2 separate regions of the Homo sapiens genome follow, and region 2 is linked to region 1. The links are contacts of gene promoters, found by promoter capture Hi-C in human tissues and cell types (Jung and others, 2019). All regions are on one chromosome and are shown on one strand. The core of a region is centred on a gene start or on the middle of the fragment in contact, and the rest is flanking DNA. Distances in the headings are between cores, read along the strand shown.

Region 1 (6,045 bases), core at 2,376-4,875:
TGAGATTACAGGCATGAGCAACCACACCTGGCCGATACATACCTATATTAAACATTAGTATGTTCATGTTAGAATAATGTACCTTTTGAATTTCATAAACTTGGAGAATATTTATATTGATGATGGATGAAAGAACTTTCTTGGATGGATGAAGAGAGTAACGCTGTGAAACAACCAGCAGGTGGCGAAAACTGGCAATCAAAAGCTTTTTGTTTGGTGGCCTGGGGAATGAAGACGGAAAGAAAACACAGGCCATTCAGACTCTTGATACAATCTCCATTCCCTGCATCTTGTTTTTTTTCTCTTCCTGGTGCCACGCTACTTGTAGAATCCAACCAGGTAAAGCTGCCAAAAGGGTCATCCATTGGCTCTTACAAGTAGAAAACATCTTGGAAAGTGAAAAGTCCACTGTGCATATGTTTGTAAGGTTGTTGGAAGGTCTCAGGCATAGATCTAGGATTCAAATCCAGTTACTCCTGCCTCAGGCTGGTGTTCCCTCCCCCACCTCAGCATTGCCCAAAGACGAGTAGTCAATGTCACATACTTCCTGGGAATACTTGCCCTTATGCTTTAAAATGGAATCTAATAAACATGGAATCTGAACGCAGGAATGGTTTCACTCTTTCATTTGAAAGAGTATCTAGAACATTCCCAGGGAAAATATAACCCCTAGCCAAAGACTGCAATACAGACCTGTCTCAAGACTGATTATAGCCAAGATGCCACATAAGGAATCAGTCTGGGAAAATCCATAGAGTGAGGCTCTGTGGGAGCAAAGGAAGACGAAAATCAGTCAGCTTTTCTTTCTCTGGAAGTAGGGGATCCGTTTCCTTCTGGCTGCCCCCTTTGCAGAAGTACAGTTTCTTTTGCAGGTTTGTCCTATCATTTCCTCACTCATATGCTGAGTATTAGGAGCTTGAAGCCTTTCAATTCCTCTTAGGTAATTTTGGGGCTTTAAAATACGCTTTCAAGATTTCTAAACCATACTGTTGTGCAATTGGTATGAATTTATGTGAGAACATTTATTCTAGGTCAATCTATACCCAGTGTCTATCCAGACCAAAACACCTCCCACGCGCATAAAAGGGACTCTGTCCCAACCATCAGAAGGGCAAGAAGGAGGATCTCCTTTCATCCCCTCTTGCCTGGATAAGAAATTTGTACCCAGGCCCCCATTCCTATGTGAGAGAAGTTGGCTTGTTGGGCTGATGGGATACAATAAATGAAGAAATAAAATAAAAACACCCAAGAGAGATGGCAGTGCGTATAGTCCCAGCTATTCATGAGGCTGAGGTGGGAGAATCCTTCGAGCCCAGAAGTTCGAGTCCAGCCTGGGCAACATAGCAAAAGCCATCTCTTAAAAAAAAAAAAAAAAGGCCAACTAAGTAAAAATTAAAAAAATCATAATTTGGTGTGCTTTTCTGGCTTTTTAAAGAATGTTTTGATTTTAGAGTAGGAATGAGACAAAATAAAGATGTCAGGCAGGGCACAGTGGCTCATGTCTGTAATCCCAGCACTTTGGGAGGCTGAGGCAGGCGGATAACGAGGTCAGGAGTTCGAGACCAGCCTGGCCAGTATGGCGAAACCCCGTCTCTACTAAAAATACAAAAATTAGCAGAGCGTAGTGGCGTGCACGTGTAATCCCAGCTACTCAGGAGGCTGAGGCAGAATTGCTTGAGCCTGGGAGGCAGAGGTTGCAGTGAGCTGAGATCGCACCACTGCACACCAGCCTCCAAGATACAACAGAGCAAGACTCTGTCTCAAAAAAAAAAAAAAAGTCATAGCATATTTGTACACATTGTAGTACTCATTTGTCATCTTTCTTGACCCCAATAATCCAGTGTCCCTATATATTTGCACTCGAGCCCTATTAAGTAAGCCGCTGTGCTTCTAGAAGACCTTTTTCTTTTCTTGGTGCTTTGTCAAAGACTCTTGGAGATAAAAATACACACGTGCAACTTGTTTGTCCTCTTGTCCTTTTTTGCTAGGGGCTATTCATGCTGATTAATTTAAAACTGTCTGCTTGCGCGTACACACGTCTGCGAGTGTGAATGTGTATGTGTGTATCTATGTACCTCATTTGAGAAAGTGCGGCCAACTAGGATTGGCTACGAGGCAAAGGTGGAGACCTTTAGGAGCCCACCCACCCCAGCGTTAGGACGGTGGGCCTGAAAGTTACTATATGGAAGTCCTCATCGTGTAGCACTAAACCAGTGTAAAAGGTGTTAGGGACAGAGGGAAAACATTGACTTAAACTGTCGTAAAGCCCTTGATAAACCCCTTCCCTGGAGCGCTGAGTTCTGCATGGCCTGGGCCACGGACTAGGTGTTCAGGTGGACACGGGCGGGGATGCGCGTGCGTGTGTAGTGCGCGGACACCTAGGAAGCTACTTGAAAGTAAACACCACGCTCGGGGCGTCCCTAGACATTGCTTAAAACGTGCAGAGTCACCTGTCTTCACAGCAGGGCAGCGCTGAGGTCCCACTGCTGGGGGCGGTGGGGGGCGGCATTGGCCTGGGTCTTCCCCCGGCGGCCGAGCGCCGGTAACACAACGTGTGTGTGTGTAGGCGCGTGTACACACTCTCATACACGGCTAGAAAGGGTCCAGGCGACACACACACTCCCACATACACGGCTAGAAAAGGTCCAGGCGAGACACACACACACACACACACACACACACACACTCCACACACACTCACACGGCCAGAAAGGGTCCAGGCGGTTCCCGGCGCTTTTCCAGCCCTTGTTTTCATGGCGCACCCTCCCGCCAGCCGCCCCCCTCCGCACTCCGTCGTCCGCCCGGCCCGGCCGCGTGCGGTTCCCCGGGAGCCCCCACCCCGTCGCGGACCCCAGCGACCACCAAGTCCGCACGCGGCCTGCCGCAGGCCTGAGCAGAAGGCCCCGCGCACACCCACCGCGCCGCGGCCGCGCGGGAGGCCTGTGCCGCCCGCGCCACCCACTGGCCGGGCCCCGCGGGCGCAGCGGAGCGGGCGGGTGGCCGGCCCGGACGCGCCCTCCCCGGCCGCGGCCCCGCGCGCCATGTGCCCCCGGCGGGACGCGCCACTCCCGGGCCTGCCGCGGCGCCTTTAACCCGGGCCAGGGAGCGGGGCGGAGGGGGCGGTCGGGTGGCTCAGAGGAGGGCTCTTTCTTTCTTCTTTTTTTGAATGAACCGTGTGACGTTACGCACAGGAAACCGGTCGGGCTGTGCAGAGAATGAAGTAAGAGGACAGGCACCACAGCCCCGCTCCCGCCCCCTTCCTCCCGCGCCCGCCCCTCCGCGCCGCCTGCCCGCCCGCCCGCCGCGCTCCCGCCCGCCGCTCTCCGTGGCCCCGCCGCGCTGCCGCCGCCGCCGCTGCCAGCGAAGGTGCCGGGGCTCCGGGCCCTCCCTGCCGGCGGCCGTCAGCGCTCGGAGCGGGCTGCGCGGCGGGAGCTCCGGGAGGCGGCCGTAGCCAGCGCCGCCGCGCAGGACCAGGAGGAGGAGAAAGGGTGCGCAGCCCGGAGGCGGGGTGCGCCGGTGGGGTGCAGCGGAAGAGGGGGTCCAGGGGGGAGAACTTCGTAGCAGTCATCCTTTTTAGGAAAAGAGGGAAAAAATAAAACCCTCCCCCACCACCTCCTTCTCCCCACCCCTCGCCGCACCACACACAGCGCGGGCTTCTAGCGCTCGGCACCGGCGGGCCAGGCGCGTCCTGCCTTCATTTATCCAGCAGCTTTTCGGAAAATGCATTTGCTGTTCGGAGTTTAATCAGAAGAGGATTCCTGCCTCCGTCCCCGGCTCCTTCATCGTCCCCTCTCCCCTGTCTCTCTCCTGGGGAGGCGTGAAGCGGTCCCGTGGATAGAGATTCATGCCTGTGCCCGCGCGTGTGTGCGCGCGTGTAAATTGCCGAGAAGGGGAAAACATCACAGGACTTCTGCGAATACCGGACTGAAAATTGTAATTCATCTGCCGCCGCCGCTGCCTTTTTTTTTTCTCGAGCTCTTGAGATCTCCGGTTGGGATTCCTGCGGATTGACATTTCTGTGAAGCAGAAGTCTGGGAATCGATCTGGAAATCCTCCTAATTTTTACTCCCTCTCCCCGCGACTCCTGATTCATTGGGAAGTTTCAAATCAGCTATAACTGGAGAGTGCTGAAGATTGATGGGATCGTTGCCTTATGCATTTGTTTTGGTTTTACAAAAAGGAAACTTGACAGAGGATCATGCTGTACTTAAAAAATACAAGTAAGTTCTCTGCACAGGAAATTGGTTTAATGTAACTTTCAATGGAAACCTTTGAGATTTTTTACTTAAAGTGCATTCGAGTAAATTTAATTTCCAGGCAGCTTAATACATTCTTTTTAGCCGTGTTACTTGTAGTGTGTATGCCCTGCTTTCACTCAGTGTGTACAGGGAAACGCACCTGATTTTTTACTTATTAGTTTGTTTTTTCTTTAACCTTTCAGCATCACAGAGGAAGTAGACTGATATTAACAATACTTACTAATAATAACGTGCCTCATGAAATAAAGATCCGAAAGGAATTGGAATAAAAATTTCCTGCATCTCATGCCAAGGGGGAAACACCAGAATCAAGTGTTCCGCGTGATTGAAGACACCCCCTCGTCCAAGAATGCAAAGCACATCCAATAAAATAGCTGGATTATAACTCCTCTTCTTTCTCTGGGGGCCGTGGGGTGGGAGCTGGGGCGAGAGGTGCCGTTGGCCCCCGTTGCTTTTCCTCTGGGAAGGATGGCGCACGCTGGGAGAACAGGGTACGATAACCGGGAGATAGTGATGAAGTACATCCATTATAAGCTGTCGCAGAGGGGCTACGAGTGGGATGCGGGAGATGTGGGCGCCGCGCCCCCGGGGGCCGCCCCCGCACCGGGCATCTTCTCCTCCCAGCCCGGGCACACGCCCCATCCAGCCGCATCCCGGGACCCGGTCGCCAGGACCTCGCCGCTGCAGACCCCGGCTGCCCCCGGCGCCGCCGCGGGGCCTGCGCTCAGCCCGGTGCCACCTGTGGTCCACCTGACCCTCCGCCAGGCCGGCGACGACTTCTCCCGCCGCTACCGCCGCGACTTCGCCGAGATGTCCAGCCAGCTGCACCTGACGCCCTTCACCGCGCGGGGACGCTTTGCCACGGTGGTGGAGGAGCTCTTCAGGGACGGGGTGAACTGGGGGAGGATTGTGGCCTTCTTTGAGTTCGGTGGGGTCATGTGTGTGGAGAGCGTCAACCGGGAGATGTCGCCCCTGGTGGACAACATCGCCCTGTGGATGACTGAGTACCTGAACCGGCACCTGCACACCTGGATCCAGGATAACGGAGGCTGGGTAGGTGCACTTGGTGATGTGAGTCTGGGCTGAGGCCACAGGTCCGAGATGCGGGGGTTGGAGTGCGGGTGGGCTCCTGGGGCAATGGGAGGCTGTGGAGCCGGCGAAATAAAATCAGAGTTGTTGCTTCCCGGCGTCCCTACCTCCTCCTCTGGACAAAGCGTTCACTCCCAACCTGACCGATAACGCCTGCCATCTAAAAGTCTTTAACTTGCTTGCTAGTCGTGGAGATCCAAAGATCTAGCGTTTGTAATCCAGTAGGATGTGGTGGTAAATGGTACCCCTTCAGTGTTTCTCAAGCTGAAGGTCCAGGAGTCCCCAGGACCACCGTTTCCTGGCTTGAGCAGCTTGTTGGAACCGGAGGGAGGTTTCAGGGACTGCTTATGAACCAGATACCAGGTTGGGTCTTGACAGTCTGCATCCCAAACAAGCTCCCCTGAAACAAGCCCGTTGTACACTAAAATTGGAGAACAACCCGATTAGAAGAATAGACTCCACAGAAGACCAAGGGCATCATCAATCGGTAAAATTTTCCAAAAGAGGAAAACCAATGTAAGTCTTTTTCCCTGAAAAACTTAGTTGTGTTTGTAAAGAGCTAAGTTGACATTCCAAAGTCCTTGGACTGGAATCTCCAGTGTGTGCCATGTTCCCAGTGGGCGTGATGAGGTGTCCTGAGGAGTATCAGGCTATGGCTTTGCTACCTTGTCAGTGACAGAATTTGCATCGGCTGCAT
Region 2 (6,045 bases), core at 1,276-3,775, 750 kb after region 1:
TGTGAGGTGGTGACAGGACCTGCCATGACCAACTAGCCGTATCTGTTTTGAGCACATAAGGAGGGACTATCGGTGTATCTAGTATTGGACAAGAGATACAAACTTTGGATTTTTTTTTTCCTGTAGTGGCCCTGACTGAGGGAAATATTCTCTTATCTCTGTAAACCCAGTAGCTAGCGTAATTCTGCCTTACAGCAAGCATTCAATATATGTTTGGTGTATAAATCCCCAAATAAGGGATTCCAGAGGCTTCTTAAGAACTATAGATTAGTGAATCATTTCTGTGCCAACTGGTAGAACCAGTAAAAGATAATGGGTATTAATTGCACGGGCAAAATATGTGTCAGAGAAAAGGCACAATTTGTATAATGAGCAATGCAGGCAACTGACTTGTGGTTTTGGCTGGGATAAATTTGTAACAGTGTTAAGACTGTTAAACATGACCTAGATTAGCCCAGCCACTCAAATGTTAGGTGAATATTGAAGAAAAATAAAGTCATTAGGAATGTTGATGTTGCTAAATTCCTTCTGAGTAATAAATGTCAAACTGTCAAGGGAAAACTGCACAAAATCTTATGAGGCTAGAAGGAAAAGTGGCAGAGGAGTTCATGGGCAAGTAACAATTTTACAGAAAAGTTACCTGGAGGATACCTACACAGCAACAGGCCCTGAATGACCCATCATAAGGCGACTAAAGGGATGCAAGTCAACACCACCAATGGCTGCTTGAAGACAAGCTAACGGGCCATAGTGGCCAAATAAGTTGTCATTAAATTGGACTAATGATGAAACCTATAGAACTTGCATGAGTCTTGCATATAAATATTTCAACCAGCATATAACAAAATGAACAACCCAAGATCAAGAGAATCAAAGATTCAACAGGATATTCTCAAACTAGAAATGGACTGAAAAGGAACCTCAGGGGTAGCGTTCATCAAAATGATGCAGACAGTGAAACTACAGTAGACTATAGTTCAAAGAGCAAATTTCAGAATATGTTTTAAAAAAAGCAGCTACCTCTCCAAATGGCATAATTTACAAAACTATTTTCTTTACACTGTGCAAGCTGGTGAATATTCTAATCACGAATTGCCATATACAAAACCGCAGCTTCCAAAGAACTGAATACATAAATCTAAATCTATACTAACGTAACTTTTTTTTGATAATTCAGAAGGTACTTCAGAATTGTGTGGTACCTTAAGAACTTTTATAATCAGAAATTATGTGATCCTCTAGAGATTCAGGGGATGTGGAAAGTGAAGACAGACCAATTATGCCAAAGGATACTCCACAAATTGCCCTTTTAAAAAGACACACAAACTGAATTTGTCATGTCTCAAATGATAAAGGGTCTTGCACATAATAAAAACAAAAAGTAAAACATAAACCACTATTCTAACACTAAAAATACTGGAAATTGGTAATTATAAACAATAGAAGTCTGTTAGAGTTAAGACTCATTTAAATAAATCATAGGCAACAGAACCACATATTTCATCTGGGATATTAAACGAAGCTAGAGACCTTCTAAATCTTTTACAAGAAACTGAGAGATCAAGCATCTCATTTCCCTCTAAATTTTTTGGTGCCACAATTGGCAACAGAAGAGTGGGGTGGAAGAAACACTGGGCAATAAACTACAATGATGAGCATTCTTTTTTTTTTTTTTTGAGACAGAGTCTCATTCTGTCGCCCCGGCTGGAGTACAGTGGTGCAATCTCGGCTCACTGTAACCTCCACCTCCCGGGTTCAAGTGATGCTCCTGCCTCAGTCTCCCGAGTAGCTGGGATTACAGGTGTGCACCACCACATCTGGCTAATTTTTATATTTTTAGTAGAAACAGGGTTTCACCATGATGGCCAGGCTGGTCTCAAATTCCTGACCTCAAGTGATCCACCGGGCCCCAGCCTCCCAAAGTGCTGGGATTACAGGCGTGAGCCACCGCGCCTGGCCATGGTGAGCATTCTTAACGCTCTATATGAGGTAATATGCACCTCTTCAGAAGACAGACTTTCAGAAAGCTTGGGTTTTAACAGAAAAGACACTCCAACAACACAGACAGCTGACGGCGCTGACTGCGTCCTGGCAGGAGCCAGCACAGAGGAGGGCTGGGAGCGATCTTTGTTTTCTTTTGAAATTCTGAGCTACATAAATGGATTATCACTCAAAACAGAAGTTAAAACTTAAATTTAATAATAAATTTTTAAGAAGTAAAACAATACAAATCTTAAGCTAAAATGTATTATTTAAAGATCCAAACAACCTGCTAATCAGAAAGACTCAGTATTTTCAGCTTCAAGACAATGTCTCTCCAATTTATGATATGAGCTGTTGTTCCATAAAAAAATCCTTAGGCACGTACTGAGTTTACTGAATGCTTAAAGACAATTCTTCCTTGGTGCCTTAATATTTCAAAGAAAAATTAATACACAGAGGGGTTTTTTAAAAGTTGGAATTGGCATACATCTGCGCTGCACTTGATATCAATAAGACAAGCTGTACAAAAAATATTTCATTCAGTCATTTTATAAATGTAAATACATACAAATCGGTGACGGATATAGAGGAGAAAATAGATAAAATTGAAAAATACGCTGAGGTTGTTATTTTCATAACACTTGAAAATTAAGGAAAAAAATGAATGGGAGTTTGTGATGCTGTTACAAAGTTCTTAATAACCTATACAATGTATGTTTCCCTCTAATTTATTAGAACAAGGAAAAGGAACTAAATTGCTGCAGTGAACACCTAGGTACTTGGAACTAGGAAAATGCTCTTCATGTTTTTACATGTAATTCTTACAATCTGCTGAAGCAGGCATTACTCCTGTTTTACAAATGAGCAAACAAAGGCATCAGAGAGGTCACATGCTTAATAAACTGGGGGAGCACAACACTCAAACCCTAACTGTCTCTGACCAACGTCCACGTGCTTCTCCTCTGGAAATGGGCTAACATCGAAAAAACAGTTGCAAACTTCTTTAGTGAGCAGTAGTTCCCAAACACTGTGAGACAAGAGACAGAGTGAGCTTGTGGAGGGCAGGAATTTCATTCAGAAAATGGTATTTTAGAAAACAAACACGGCAGCAGTATGGAAAATGAACTAGAAAGAGAAGGAACAGAGACAGGGAGGGCCAGCAGCATCAATCTCCAAATGTCCACCGACAGACTTCTGTCTTCCTCATTTAGCTTGTTCCTCCTCCGTTAAGCTGCCATCGCCACCAGAGGGAACCTCAGAGATAGTAAGTGTTACAAGATCCTTCTACAGACAAGATGGGTTTTGTCCATGTTATTTTACTCCCACTTCCAATGCTTCAATGAGTTGGCCAGATGATTTTAGTTTTTTAATTTATTATTTATTTATTTATTTGAGATGGAGTTTCACTCTTGTTGCCCAGGCTGGAGTGCAATGGCGCAGTCGTGGCTCATTGCAACCTCTGCCTCCCGGGTTCAAGCGACTCTCCTGCCTTAGCCTCCCGAGTAGCTGAGATTACAGGCATGTGCCACCACGCCTGGCTAATTTTCGTATTTTTAGTAGAGACAGGTTTTCATCATGTTGGTCAGGCTGGTCTCGAGCTCCTGACCTCAGGTGATCCACTCACCTTGGCCTCTCAAAGTGCTGGGATTACAGGTGTGAGTCACCGTGTCTGGCCCAGATTATTTCAGATTCAAAAGGTAACTATTTTTTTTCTTCATCACTATTCAGTCTTTCTATACAAATATCTAGTTGAAAAATATACTCAAAACTTTTAAGAAATAGATTCTGGTTATTCATATTACATCACAACTGAATGTACTAATATTAGAATAACATTTAAATTAACAATCACATTTGTGGGATCACTACATAAATGTGTCAGGGGCACCCAGGGATAAAATATTCTCCTAGAGGTCTGCGTGCTCTTATTCTTTTTTAATCGTTACAATTAATAGTGAAGATAAACAAAATCAATGAAGCTGCAGAAGGGCACTTTCTCAAGTCAAATGAACCTTGAACCTAAAAATAAAGGGACCTTAAAATAGTGGTGGGTAAATGGAAGCCATCTAGTATAACAAAAATTTGAGGGTTGACATTCCCCTAAAGCCTCATAAAACTTCGCAAAGGATGGTTATTAAATCATGAAGAAGTCAACAGTATTCTAAAAAATACTTTACACAAAAACACTCTCATGAGCGGCCGGCAAAGCCACAGGAGAGATCTCCCATGGCCTTGGGACCTGTCTCCTGAGTTGGAACTGGCTGGAGAAGAACAACCTGGGAGACTCCTGCTGCCAGAAGGGAGAGGCAGGTGAGAATCACTGAGGCAAAGGCAATCTCCACCCCCATGGCTGGTTTGTATTCCCTAAATTAACTCCATTGATTTCAGAACTGTTTAATTTGGAAATTGCTGTACATATCAACACAAGGTAAACTTATAGTATTAGGATTTGACACAACAGCTCAGTATCTATTAATACAGTAAGTATCATGCTGAATATATTTATGTGATGGGTATTTGAAAGAAAAATAACCTTCTTACCTTTCACAGTACCACCATGGGCATGCTGAGGAGTGGAGAGTCTAATACCATTTATTCTACTATTCAATCTGTTGTCAGTTTTCTTAATTTTCTCCCTAAACCAAATGAACATATTGCCAACATTTTAATAAGGTTATCTACCAAACACATTCAGTACAGTATTGATAAAATTTCCTTCAAGACTCTTCAAATTTTTTTAGTAAGGAATAATCTAAATACAATTAAGATTCGCCCTTCCGTGGAAAGTTCTGAGAGTTTTACCCCTCCAAACTGAATGCAATATTTGACAGTAGCTTTATTTTTATCACCTGCATATATTAATATTTTGAACCAAAAGAGTAAAACCCAGAATTAAAAATATAAAGAAAACTAACTAAAAAAATACTATGTTGTATACTATCATAAACTAAACAGGCCTATTATCAAAGGCTATATGCTGTCTTTCCTTAAATTGAACCTACTTTTCTGTTTGTGGCTTTCCTTTCTTCTTATTTATTGAAGATAAACTCCGTTTTTCAGCAGAATGCTAGTAGAAAGAATAAAAAGACAAATCAGACAAAAGCTAAACCATTTTGACGTTTTTACTCTCATAATAAACATTAAAATGATAGATTCCCAGTTGTATATTCTAACAAGTGTTGATTTCCAACCTATTTTTGAAGTTTCCCACCTGAACCACTAAAATTTACATATTCTGTGACACTTACATATTTTCCTCATGATTAATACAGTATTATTTTCTATTTTTCTTTGAAAATGGACCTACATTCTTTTTTCTGACTATAAAATGAAACACAATCAAGTGACTGGCACTTGCTGTAGGTTTACTACTATTCTCTTCAAGTACAATTCCATATAACTGTCAACACTTAACTACGTCAACTCTAAGAAGAGAGGGTGCAGGCACTGGAGTAGGGGAGGGAAAGTAAACTCAGACGGGCTTTGAAAATAGGTCACTAATTATGACTAAAACTATTTATAATTTCTCAGAATATGCTTTAATGCATAAAAACACATTCCAAGAAGAGTTAACATTTGGATCTGAGCGTTGGCCAGGGACAACATCGGGTTAATGAATCAATTTTCTAGAGAGAAGTTTCATTCCATACTTGTAACATATACACAGGGACCTCCCCCCATATCTGCGAGGCCATACGACATGAAACATACTTAACAGCATTCTGCTCTCTGATCACACCCAAATCTTAAGAAAGCAAACATCCCCTAATGCATTCTGAAGTGTCAATAAACTGACCCAAATATTCATGAAGAAAGGTCAGTTGGAAAATTTCTATCACAAATAGCAAGGCAGTGATTGAAATCTGAATTCTAATTCTTTCAAGACCAAAAAATTTTGGCATAACAATCTGATGTACACCTTTGTTAAACAGTGAAGGTATTATTTTTAAAATTTTTATTTTGTTTTAAATTTATTTTTTAGAGACAGGGTTTCACTCTGTTGCCCAGGCAGAAGTACAGTGGTGTGATCATGGCTCACAGCAGCCTTGAACTCCTGGGCTC

What was found. Contacts are between HindIII fragments. The study calls those that stand out against the background at their distance.
Region 2: a contact is called between a fragment that was not itself captured here and the fragment with the promoter of BCL2 in region 1, in 1 of the 25 tissues and cell types used here (dorsolateral prefrontal cortex).

Annotation. Positions count from the first base shown.
Region 1 is chr18:63,317,349-63,323,393 of GRCh38, reverse strand. BCL2 (BCL2 apoptosis regulator) reads left to right here and starts at 3,625. Exons shown (of 3, transcript NM_000633.3): 1 at 3,625-4,220; 2 at 4,442-5,312. The coding sequence starts at 4,728. RefSeq lists an enhancer at 1,768-1,857 and silencers at 2,749-2,818, 2,849-3,058, 3,219-3,408, 4,764-5,003. The HindIII fragment of the contact is 10,586 bases long and covers 1-6,045 here.
Region 2 is chr18:62,563,576-62,569,620 of GRCh38, reverse strand. ZCCHC2 (zinc finger CCHC-type containing 2) reads right to left here. Exons shown (of 14, transcript NM_017742.6): 10 at 4,986-5,050; 11 at 4,525-4,619. Among named protein-coding and RNA genes, the nearest start is that of ZCCHC2, 44 kb to the right of the region's middle. The HindIII fragment of the contact is 3,379 bases long and covers 836-4,214 here.